Regions from separate parts of the Homo sapiens genome. Here region 2 is linked to region 1. The links are contacts of gene promoters, found by promoter capture Hi-C in blood cells and fetal thymus (Javierre and others, 2016). All regions are on one chromosome and are shown on one strand. Each heading gives the region's core, a stretch centred on a gene start or on the middle of the fragment in contact. The rest is flanking DNA. Distances are from core to core; before and after follow the strand shown.

Evidence for each region. The method cuts DNA at HindIII sites, captures the fragments that hold promoters and counts their contacts. A CHiCAGO score of 5 or more calls a contact.
Region 2: a fragment that was not itself captured here is called in contact with the fragment with the promoter of PEAK1 in region 1 in 1 of 17 cell types (naive B cells); the score reaches 5.1 in naive B cells.

The regions. Positions count from the first base shown.
Region 1 is chr15:77,417,963-77,423,371 of GRCh38, reverse strand. It overlaps PEAK1 (pseudopodium enriched atypical kinase 1), which reads left to right and starts at 3,268. Exons shown (of 10, transcript NM_001385026.1): 1 at 3,268-3,366. It overlaps HMG20A (high mobility group 20A), which reads right to left and starts at 2,484. Exons shown (of 10, transcript NM_001304504.2): 1 at 2,368-2,484. RefSeq lists enhancers at 1,983-2,032, 2,423-2,472 and silencers at 2,923-3,242, 3,493-3,662, 3,673-3,882. The HindIII fragment of the contact is 8,449 bases long and covers 1,211-5,409 here.
Region 2 is chr15:77,207,414-77,212,822 of GRCh38, reverse strand. The region is part of intron 6 of PEAK1 (pseudopodium enriched atypical kinase 1); the gene reads left to right. Among named protein-coding and RNA genes, the nearest start is that of LINC00597, 15 kb to the left of the region's middle. The HindIII fragment of the contact is 1,009 bases long and covers 1,559-2,567 here.

The DNA of each region.
Region 1 (5,409 bases), core at 2,019-4,518:
GAGGACAGCAAGCCTCTCTAAAGAAACATTTTTAAAAAGAATAAAAACAGGTTCTATGGACCTTCTCTCTCTATTTTTCACAAGCTTTTCTAATATTTCTTCTTTGATGGAACCAATGAATAACTGCCACTTATCACAAAATACCTTCTTTCAGATAGGTATTTTATATATTGCTTTCTTCTAAACAGATAGTTCTTCAAGCTGCTCAAGTCTTTCAGCTGCAACAATTTTTCTTATTTCTATTATACTGTATTTCTTCCATGGAGTACCATAAAGACCAATTTAATAAAGACAGTTTCCAAAAGGCAATATTACTCTATCTCAATCAGTATTTTAACATGATATTCTCTATTTTTTTCATTTAGTTCTACAATCTTTCCATACTTCAATAATTCCTAACACTACAGTTTCATTTGTCAGGGTGACCATATTATATTTTCTTCTATATTACATTAATATAGAAGATAGTGAACACTTCTTCTTTAATCAATTAATTCTTACTTCGGGCAGTCTACATGTTCCTAACCTATTAATAACCACAAAGACAATGTTTTGTCTTGCTTTTTCAGTCAACTACTGCAGCAATCGTGTGGTCTTTCAAAATATAAATCATACTTGATTTTAGGGTCTTAGATTCTTTTTTAAAAGTGACCACAGAAGATTAAAACATGTATTTTTTTTTACTGTAATATTTGGTTTAAAACATATTTTCTAATGAACCCTAACCCAAACAGCTATTTATTTATTTATCTATTTTTGAGACGGAGTCTCACTGTCGCCCAGGCTGGAGTGCAGTGGAGCGATCTTGGCTCACTGCAACCTCCGCCTCCCGGGTTCAAGCAATTCTCCTGCCTCAGCCTCCTGAGTAGCTGGGACTACAGGCGCACGCCACCACGCCCAGCTAATTTTTGTATTTTTAGTAGAGACGGGGTTTCACCATGCTGGCCAGGCTGGTCTCGAACTCCTGACCTCGTGATCTGCCCGCCTAGGCCTCCCAAAGTGCTGTGATTACAGGCGTGACCAAACAGCTTTTTAAAAAAACTATTATAGAATTAAAATAATCGCAGAGTCTGAGGCTAGATTAAGTACAATCCCAAAAGAAAAAGTACACAGGCCTTATTACTTCAAAAATTCTTGCAAGACAATACAGTTCTAGGTTCACTGATATATATACTAAAATTACTAACATTCAGATTTCACAAAGTAAGCTTCAAATAGATTGATTCCTTCAATACACAGACACACACCCTTCTAAGTATTGTGTTATCTGACAACAGAACCAAGGAATCAAAATTATTGAGTGTTTATTACCGCCTCACATATAGTTTATTAAAAATGAGCTACTGAAAACCAGAAAGTTCTTATTGACCTTTTGTCCTTTGTGAGCCAACTTTTTCCTGTTTAGAATCTGAGCTGAGTCTCATGACCCTTGCTTTATACTTTAAAACCACAAAGAACAGATACCATTTAAAAATCAGTGATGAATTAAATTACAAAGGAGGAAAATGTAATAAAATACAACTTTCAAAAATGTTACGTGTAAGCTACACATAAGAATTTTTAAGGCTGAAGAAGCTGTTCTCAGGCACAGGGCAAAACCTGTAGCCCAAAATCAACAGTCCTAATAATTTAAGATGTCAATTTTATCAGTTAAGGTAACCTCAAATTTGAGTACTTCAGTGTGATACTTTCATTCTGCTAAGATGAAAATGCCCCAGATTTTATGTAAAATATTCAGTCCCCTAAATAAAAAGTTATCTCCTTAAAAGAGAAGCTAGATTTCCTGTTGCATGTCAAGGCAGAGGGCACCACACTTCACCCAGCCAAGGCTGGACTTGAGTAGGGGTGCAGGTGTTGGCAATTCATCAGTCACACAAGCTATGTCGTCTTGCAAAGGTGCATAGAGATTTTTAACAAGGGCTTTCGAATTCTTTGAAGAAAACACAGACAATTTTGCTGGGGAGGAAATGCTCCATATTCCACGTGGAAGCAAACTCATAAATTCTGACTGCAGGTTGGTGTTCAGCACAACTTGGAATAATCTAACTTTTCACATAAAACACAATCCCCAAGCTGCAAGATAATGTCTCCGCGAATGGCACCAAGCACCACCTTTTCAAGCCCTCATCAGCACTGGAAGTGGGTCGGACACCCCCAAACCATCACCACCCCCCCACAGGAAGTGAGGGTGTCCCCCCTCCCCAGGACGGCCTTCCTCCCCTCCCCCAACCGGAAGTTGAGGCGCCCCCATTCAGCCGGCCTCCAACTGAGACAAACCAGTACCACCACCACCAAAAGAGGGGTGATCTTCAAGGGGTGAAGGGCATCTCGACTGGGGCCACCCCCAAGCTCGCCTTGCTTACTGACCTGCTGACGACAGGGGCAGGAAGGGGCCTAGGGCCAAAAGAAAGTCCCTTCCACAGAGGACAATTCCCTCAGCCCCTCTCAATCGCCTTCACTTCACGCACTCGTCGTCTCACAGCTGGACAAAAATTCTTCCGCAGCACTTTATTTTGGTGTCCTTTCCTTTTCTTTACCTAATCTCTTAACCACCTTTCCACAGGTAACTCCTCTTACCGCATAGCATTTACAATTGCTCCGGTGAGAAGAAAAATGAAATATTTTCCACGGTACCTTCACAAAAATGAAGGGATTATTTTGCCCCAATGCGGCGAAGGACTACGTGGTTACGCAAGGTGAGCCTTATTTTCGTGGAGGTTTCTGGGAGATGTAGTTTTTTTTTTTTTATTGCGAAGGCCCGCAGAAAGTAGAAGAACTGAAATTGGTCATGACTACATATTAGCGTCCTCGAAAACATATTCTGTATTCGATGACGGCTGACCTAGCGGGCCCCGACGCCCAAATGGGCCCAGACTCCCCTGGTCTTTTCCTCTGCGGCTTAATCGAACCCAAATTTTCCCTCACGCGGGCCCAAGGTCTCGGCAGCCCCGCCCCTTGTCTTAGCCCCGCCCTCCGCAGCCAATCAGGCACCCTTTAGGTCTCGTCCTCTGGAGGTTGGAAGGCAGAGAGGAGGGGCCTGGCGGTGACTCCTCCCGCTGGGGCTGAGGGAGACCTGGGAGACGACCGGGGCCCGTGAGCGCGCGCGTGCTCACGGCTCCAGGAGCGCGGCGAGCGGGCGAGGGCGCGCGCGGAGGGGCGGCGCGCGGGGCCGAGAGGAGGCGGGCAGGCTGGTGGGCTGGGCGGGCGGCGAGCGGCCGGGAGCGCGCGGTGGACTCGGCCGCGGCGAGTAGTTAGTTAGTTGTTGTTAGTCAGTGTCAGTTGCTCGGCGGCGGCGGCCGTGGTCACCAGGAAGGGGACGGGACGGACGGTGATGGTGGTCGCCGCGGCGGCGTGTGCGCCCCTCAGGTAACAGCGGCCCGGCTGTCCGCGTCCGCTCGGTTGTCTTCTACTCACGCGCCGTCTGTGGGACCAGGGTTGCCGCGGGTTGAGGGCGCTGACCCGGGGGAATCCGGGCGGGGCGGCGCGGGTTCTGGGTGGCGGCGCGGGTTCTGGGTGGCGCCGCCGCCGGGGCTCTGGCGGCCGGTGCGTCCCGCCCGGCGCGGGCTCTAGCTCCCCGGCCACCCCCGCGCCCCGCCGGTGCCGCGCGCCCCCTGCCGCCCCTGCCCCCTCCCTCGGCGGCGGCCCCGGGAGCGCGACGCCCCCCAGAGGAAGGAAAGTTGGGACCTGCCGCGAGGGACGCCCCCGGGCGCGGCTGGGAGGTTGCGGGGGAAAGTGAAGCCTGGAGGAGCTGGACGCGGGGAGGCCGGGGCAGGAGGGGCTTCTCTGGCTCCTGCCGGGTCCACACGGTCAGCCCGCTCCCGCACCCGGGAGCATCGGCGCAGCCTCGCCGGCAGCGTCGGGACGGAGCCGGGTGGCTCCCTGCCTGCTCCCTTCGCGCCGCGGCTGGGGAGCCCGCGAACGTGTGGGCTGGCGGGGTCGTTTGGGGGTTGTGAGTGGTTCGGCTGCTCAGTTTTTTTCTTTTCTGCCCTTTGACCCATCCGTTCTTGCAACTTTTCTTTCCTCCTTCGATGGGGACTTGCCGTCTGAACCGCGTCTGCCCCCTCCCCTCTCGTCGCATGCACCATCCGTCTGGGAGCTTGATTTCGTTTTTTCCTCCTTTGGCTACGTTAAAGATTGCTGAGAGCACCGGGAGAGACCCTCCTCCCCCGCCTGCCTCTGGCCTGTTAAATGTTACTTTTTGCGATTCGTTGTTTTTTAAAGATCCAAGTTCAGGAATTTGAGAGCTGTGGAATGGAGTTATTGGAAGGCTGACGTTGAGGGGGTAGTGATGAGTTAGAGGAAAACTATGATTTCATCTTTATTGGCCTTGCTATAGAAAACCTAATTGATTTTTTTTCTGCCTCTGTTGAATGTGGTAAGATCATACGTTGAATTAAATACTTAGAGACTTACATAAAAGACTATTTTTAGGTCATTGGATGATGTACGTGAACAGCTTTTCACCTGAATTGGGATTGCCTTGAGGATTCTGTTTTGGGGCCTACTTACTGATTTTTGTTCAGCCACAGCGTCTTTTTTTTTCCCCCGATAAATGAAGTGATGTAGTGATGTGTATAGTCAGAGAACCCATATTGCTCTCTGCAGTGTGGAAGTGAAAAACGTGAATTATCCACCGGGGTAAAACTTTCCATGAGCAATCTTGGATACTCACTTCATGATGGCTTCTCTCGTAATCTCAGAGCATTTCTAGATAGCTCAATTCACTGACGACCCTAATTACTTTCTGACTTGCCTGGGACTTCTCTTTGGTGACTTATTTAGTAAACTGTAATGGCAGATATGGTACATTTTCTTGGCTTCAAAGTTGAGGGTTATAGCCTCAGCCCAGAGATGAACAATGGAAGTAGAAGTCATAGCATTGCTAGTGAATTTTGGATATGACCAACTCACAAACTATGTGAAAAAACAAACATCCCCTTTTCATTGCTGTCGGGGGGGAAAGGGAAATATTTTATCATGTCTTTATTTTGGATTCTCTAACATGACTACATTATGTGGGAAAAAATGTCAAATTATTTTCTTTAAGGCTTTTTAATGTATGTTCCTTCTTTTCCCTCACTACCCCCCATCTCCTGTCCCAACTTAGAGGCTAAAATTTATGTGTGGCTGTGTTCTAGGGTTGGAAGAGAAGTGTTTTGGTGAAAGAAAAAGATAAGATCACTTTGAACTATTATGATACCTCAACTATTCGTTTTATCCAGTTGATAGTATACAGAAACTTTCACAATAATGTTTGTAGCCTATTAACATTCAAAATTCATTTTTAAGAGTCTACCCTGAAGGCCCATGAAGAAATAATGCCACTTCATAACTGTTTGCCGACAATCACATTAAAAAATATGTTCCTGGAATGCATTATACGTGTACTCATATAAACATTTATCTTTG
Region 2 (5,409 bases), core at 814-3,313, 210 kb after region 1:
TTCTCATATCACTCTATAAAAAGCCAGGCTCATAACATTAAATCTGAATTAATTTATGACTTTTTCATAGGACTTTTGAGATAATATTGCCCTGGTTTGTTGTTTATAGATGACCTACATACAAGTATAGAGTTTAGTGAAGGGAGCAGATAAATAAAATGTCCTTTGGCCTATGTTGAATAGGAACAAGCAAACTTTAGAAAGAAAATTGATTGAATAAAACTTTATCAAATTCTGTTATGAGTCTCCGGTATGTCTGTATTTTGTCTTGTTGAGTCCAGAGGAGATCCATGTGCTTTAGATGACACAATTGTATAAATAGCAGAGTTGATATTTATTTTAAAATTTAGGAGACTGACTTACCTTTTTTCCGAAAGTTAGGGCTATTCCACTTCCCCAAGTAAGCAAGGCTAATTTTTTATTTTCTCAAAAGGAGCTTTAAATCCAAATAACTTGAACAAGTAGTTAACTGGACCAACAGTTCTATACCAAATATACCAAAGAGGTCATTGAATCTGAGATATTATGAATTAGGAAAAGTACTAAAAAGAGAACCTTGGCCACTAAAAAACCTGGGCTGAATTCCCAGCTTAGGCACCCTAATGGCTTTAATAGCTTAACCTTGGAGGGAATGTTCACTTTCCCTGAGTCTGTTTCTTCATCTATAAAATGGAAATGAAAAATCTTTCTTTATAAGTTTATTTTGAAAATTCAATGATTATATATTTTAGTTTCTAGAACATCTTCATATCCAATAGTTATTAGTTCTTTCCCATACTTGATCATAAAGAAAACATAATGTATGAGTCTTATAAAAGGATAAGATGAGGAACTCAGTAAATAATAATGAATAAATGTTTTATGAAAACACCAGAGAAGGAAACAGTATTTTGCATTTTTAATCATGATAAATTTTGAATATAAATTATGATCAAACATCTTTACAGTCACTTTTTTTTTTTTTTTTTTTTTTTGAGATGGAGTTTCGCTCTTTTCTCCCAGGCTGGAGTGCAGTGGCGTGATCTCGGCTCACTGCAACCTGTGCCTCCCGGGTTCAAATAATTCTCCTGCCTCAGCCTCCTGAGTAGCTGAGATTACAGGTGCCTGCCACCATGCCTGGCTAATGTTTGTATTTTTAGTAGAGACGGGGTTTCACCACATTGGCCAGCTGGTCTCAAACTCCTGACCTCAGATGATCGACCCACCTCGGCCTCCCAAAGTGCTGGGATTACAGGCGTGAACTGCCGTGCCTGGCCTACAGTCACTTTTATTGAATAATAATTATAGCAGTCATAAGTCATTATTTTATTTTGCTCAGCATTTGTATGCTGAGTGATTTTGCTGTTAATAAATCAACATTATTTAGCCAGAATTGAACTCACCTCCATGGTATCTTAGTGGAGCCGTAGAACCTGTACTACCCAGAATTTCATCCATGTTTAATATTATATGGTACATCAAGCCACAGTATTCCTTTATTTGTGTAAACTTAATAGTTTGCTGAAAGTTCATTTTAAAAATCTATTGTTTTGAAACACCTTATAAGATAAAATAAGCTTACATGCCTTGCGAAGTAATATGCTGTAACACTAGGGACAGTATACTTCTTGTATATGGGCCAATTTTAAGTACTTTAGGTTTTACAGGGCATAGTCTCTGTTGCAACTACTCAGTTTGCCTTTGTAGCACAAAAGCAGGTATAGGCAGTATGTGAATGGATGTGTTTGCCTGTTTTAATAAAACTTTCTTTACAAAAAGAGATGGCAGACCAGATTTTACCCATGGGACATAGTTTGCTGATCTCTACTGTAATAAAATAGCACAGATCTAGAAGTAGAAAACCCTGGAGATAATCATTCCTGACATAAACTAGCTGAATATTGCTAAAAACCCAAATCATTAAACTTCCTTGTGAATTTTGTTTTTGTTTTTTGAGACAGAGACTTGCTCTGTCGCCCTGAGCACACAAGGCCAGAATGCATTGGTGCAGCCTCGGTTCACTGCATCCTCCACCTCCCAGGTTCAAGCCATTCTCCTGCCTCAGCCTCCTGAGTAGCTGGGATTACAGGTACCTGTCACCATACCTGGCTGATTTTTGTATTTTTACTAGAGATGGGGTTTCACCATGTTGGCCAGTCTGATCTCAAACTCCTGACCTCAGGTGATCTGCCCACCTCTGCCTCCCAAAGTGTTGGGATTACAGGCGTGAGCCACTGCGCCCAGCCTGAATTTATTTTCTTAATCAATGATTTCTCTTCCTATTCCTTCAGATTCCTATTTAAATTTTATCTTTGGTCATCAAAAGTTTTCTGGTTTAAAAGACACTTTTTCCTGAAGGATATGGAGGTAATCTAAGGACAAAATCAGTGTAGAGTCTTGACTTTTTACTGGATTTAAAATGGACTTTTTACTGGATTTAAAATGCTGGGTTTCAAATGAATTACATATATATTGCTTCTTCCCTTTGGGAACTTTGAGATCTAAAAGAACTTCAACTTTATGATCTGCAAGAACAAACTAATGACTTGTCCATCAATATATTACCAATAACTTTAGTGATAGAAGCTTTAATATACATCTCTGGTATATATGGAAACTATAAGTTGAATGTAGGTTGTGTAAAAATAATTGCATTATATTGCCTTAGTGTAACATAAGAAGTAAATATAAGGATAGTTACCATTTTTAATCACTTATGCTATAGCACTTAGTTATCCTATTTGATCTCTGTAACAACTGGTAGTTGCTATTGTTAATTCTTATTTGATAGATGAGGAAACTAAAGTTCAAAGACATAAGTAACTGGCCCAGGGATACATAGAAAGGGAAAGTGTCAGAGCTGAGACCAAACTCAGTGTGTTAGTTTCTTATTACTGCTGTAACAAATTGTCATAAACGTAATTGTTTAAAACAATACATTTATTATCTTGGAATTCAGGAGGCCGGAAATATGAAATAAGTTTCACTGGGCTAGAATCAAGGTTTTGGCAGGTCTGCATTCCTTCAGAAGGCTCTAAGGGAGAATCCATATAAGGTAACAATTTCACAAGTTCTGGGGATTTGGACATCTTTGTGGGGTCATTATTCTGCCTACCACACCCAGTGAAGAAAAAATTTTAAAAATATTCCATTGTATCCTCTCAGCATCTCACAGAAAGGAAGACCAGTTATTATCATCCCATTGTGCAGGTAAAGGATCCTGAGGCAGAAGGAATTTGTGACTTTGCCAGAGTTTTCTAACTAGTTAGCCCAAAGGGATCTTTTAAGTCCAGAAAGTTCTCTGCTGTATCATACTTCCATAACATTTTTATCAGCATTACACATCTGATGCTAATATAGGTATATTGCTTTCATGTCTCTAGATAATCAAATTTGAATTCAACCCAAATTAGACTTGATTCAGTGCCCTTGCCATCTGTTAGCTTGTTTGATAGTTTCTGGTATAAAAGACATCTTTTCCTGAAGGATAAAGAAATAAGCCCAGGATAAAATGGATGCAGTGTCTTGACTTCATTCGGGTTACTTTGAAAATCTCCGTTTGCTAGTGTTTAGACTCAATAGCTGAAGGTACATATATGGAAATCTTGGACTTTCTATATCCTCTCTTATATGTCACAAACAATTTTTTTCTTTTATATTAAAAAAGAGACATAAAAGGGTTATCTTAGACTAGACTTTTTTAGATCTGGTTTCAATTTTCTTTGTATAGAACTTTTTTCAACACTCATTTCCTGGCTTTCCATTATGCCAGTAAGTAGTTGAATCTATACTGTCAGTTTACTTGCTAGTCTGTAGACAAATCTTCCCTAACTTCCAAAAATAGTTAAGAACAGACTGGAGATAGTCCTTCAAAAATTAGTACAATGGAAAGAAACCCTTTAGATAACATCTATGTTTTATTGCTGCTATACAAAGCAGTAATGGAGGTGGTAAAGACAAATATTATTATTTAATAATTGGTCATGACTTCCTATTTTTCTTAGGCCATTCTTTCAGTTTTTCACCAGTGAGTTAGTTCTCTATAGTTAAGTATTTCTGTCTTACCAAAACCAGGTATTTTCACACATTTCACACATTAGGCTTTAGCTGTTTTATAACCCATCATTTTATATTGTTTTATTCTAAATAGAAGATTGGTTTTTTTGTTTCATTTTCCTAGCTTTTTTACTTTGGCAGAAAGAATGGTGTTTTTTCCCTATACAACATTGCCTAGAATTCATAGTTCTTCTAGTTAATGTAAGCATTGTAATTAAGAAAGTAGAGGAAAAGATGAACATAATATTCGCCCTAAGAGGAAGTTGCTGGCCTCACTGATATAAGTTCTGTGGAAACAATACTGAGAGTGACGGTATCGTTTTCCCAAAGATACTAGTGACTCTAGACAAGGGAGTGGTCAAGTACAGAGAGGAATGGGATGTCCTGAGATCAGAAACTAGAGAAGATATGTGGTTACCAAAGATTATAGAAACAGCATGATTGCATAGAGTTGAGTGGGACTTTGTAATGAGTCAGGCCTGGGTTCAAATCCCAGCATACTACTTAAAAGTGGTATAGCATTGCACAAGGAATTGAATATCTTCAATCCGCCATTTTATTAAAATGTACTAAAATGATGATAGTTACTGCCCCTCAAGATTATTGTATTGAATTAAAGATGCGTCATACATAGTAGTACCTGAAGCACTGTATATAGTAGCTGTAAAGATAAAAGCAACAGATTTAAGTTGACGGGCAGATGCAAAGCACAGTTTGCTTAATGTTGGATTTTCTCACCAACTCTGTTGAAAGTCTTGGGGAAAAGCCACACTCAGAGCCTTGTCCCTTATTTCAGAGTAGCATGGATCCGTTTTTAGCCCAACCTGTTCCTAGACCTGTATGAGCCTGGAGCTGAGCAGGAGCACTGTGAGAGTCTTGAAAGAAAAATTGGAAGCCTAACTGGAAATGTAAAACATGGTTTTCTTGTTAGAACCCCTTTATCAACCGAAGTCCATAGTTTACATAAGGATTTTCTCTTTTTGTTGTACATTCTATGAGGTTTGACAAATGTATAATGACAACTGTGTAATGTATCCACCATTATAGTATCATATAGAATAGTTTCACTGCCCTAAAATTCCCCTCTGCTCCACCTATTCATTCCTCCGTTCCCCCTTATTCCTGGCAACCACTGATCTTTTTACTATCTCAACATTTGGTTTTGCATTTTCCAGAATGTCATATATTTAGAATCATACAATATCTAGCCTTTTCAGATTGATTGGCCTCTTTCACTTAATAATGTGCATTCAAGGTTCTTCTATGTCTTTGTCTTTTCTTGGCTTGGTAACTCATTTTTGTCATTAGATAGTATTTGTTGTATGGGTATACCACAGTTTGTCCATTCACTTTCCTTACTTCAAGTTTTAGCAA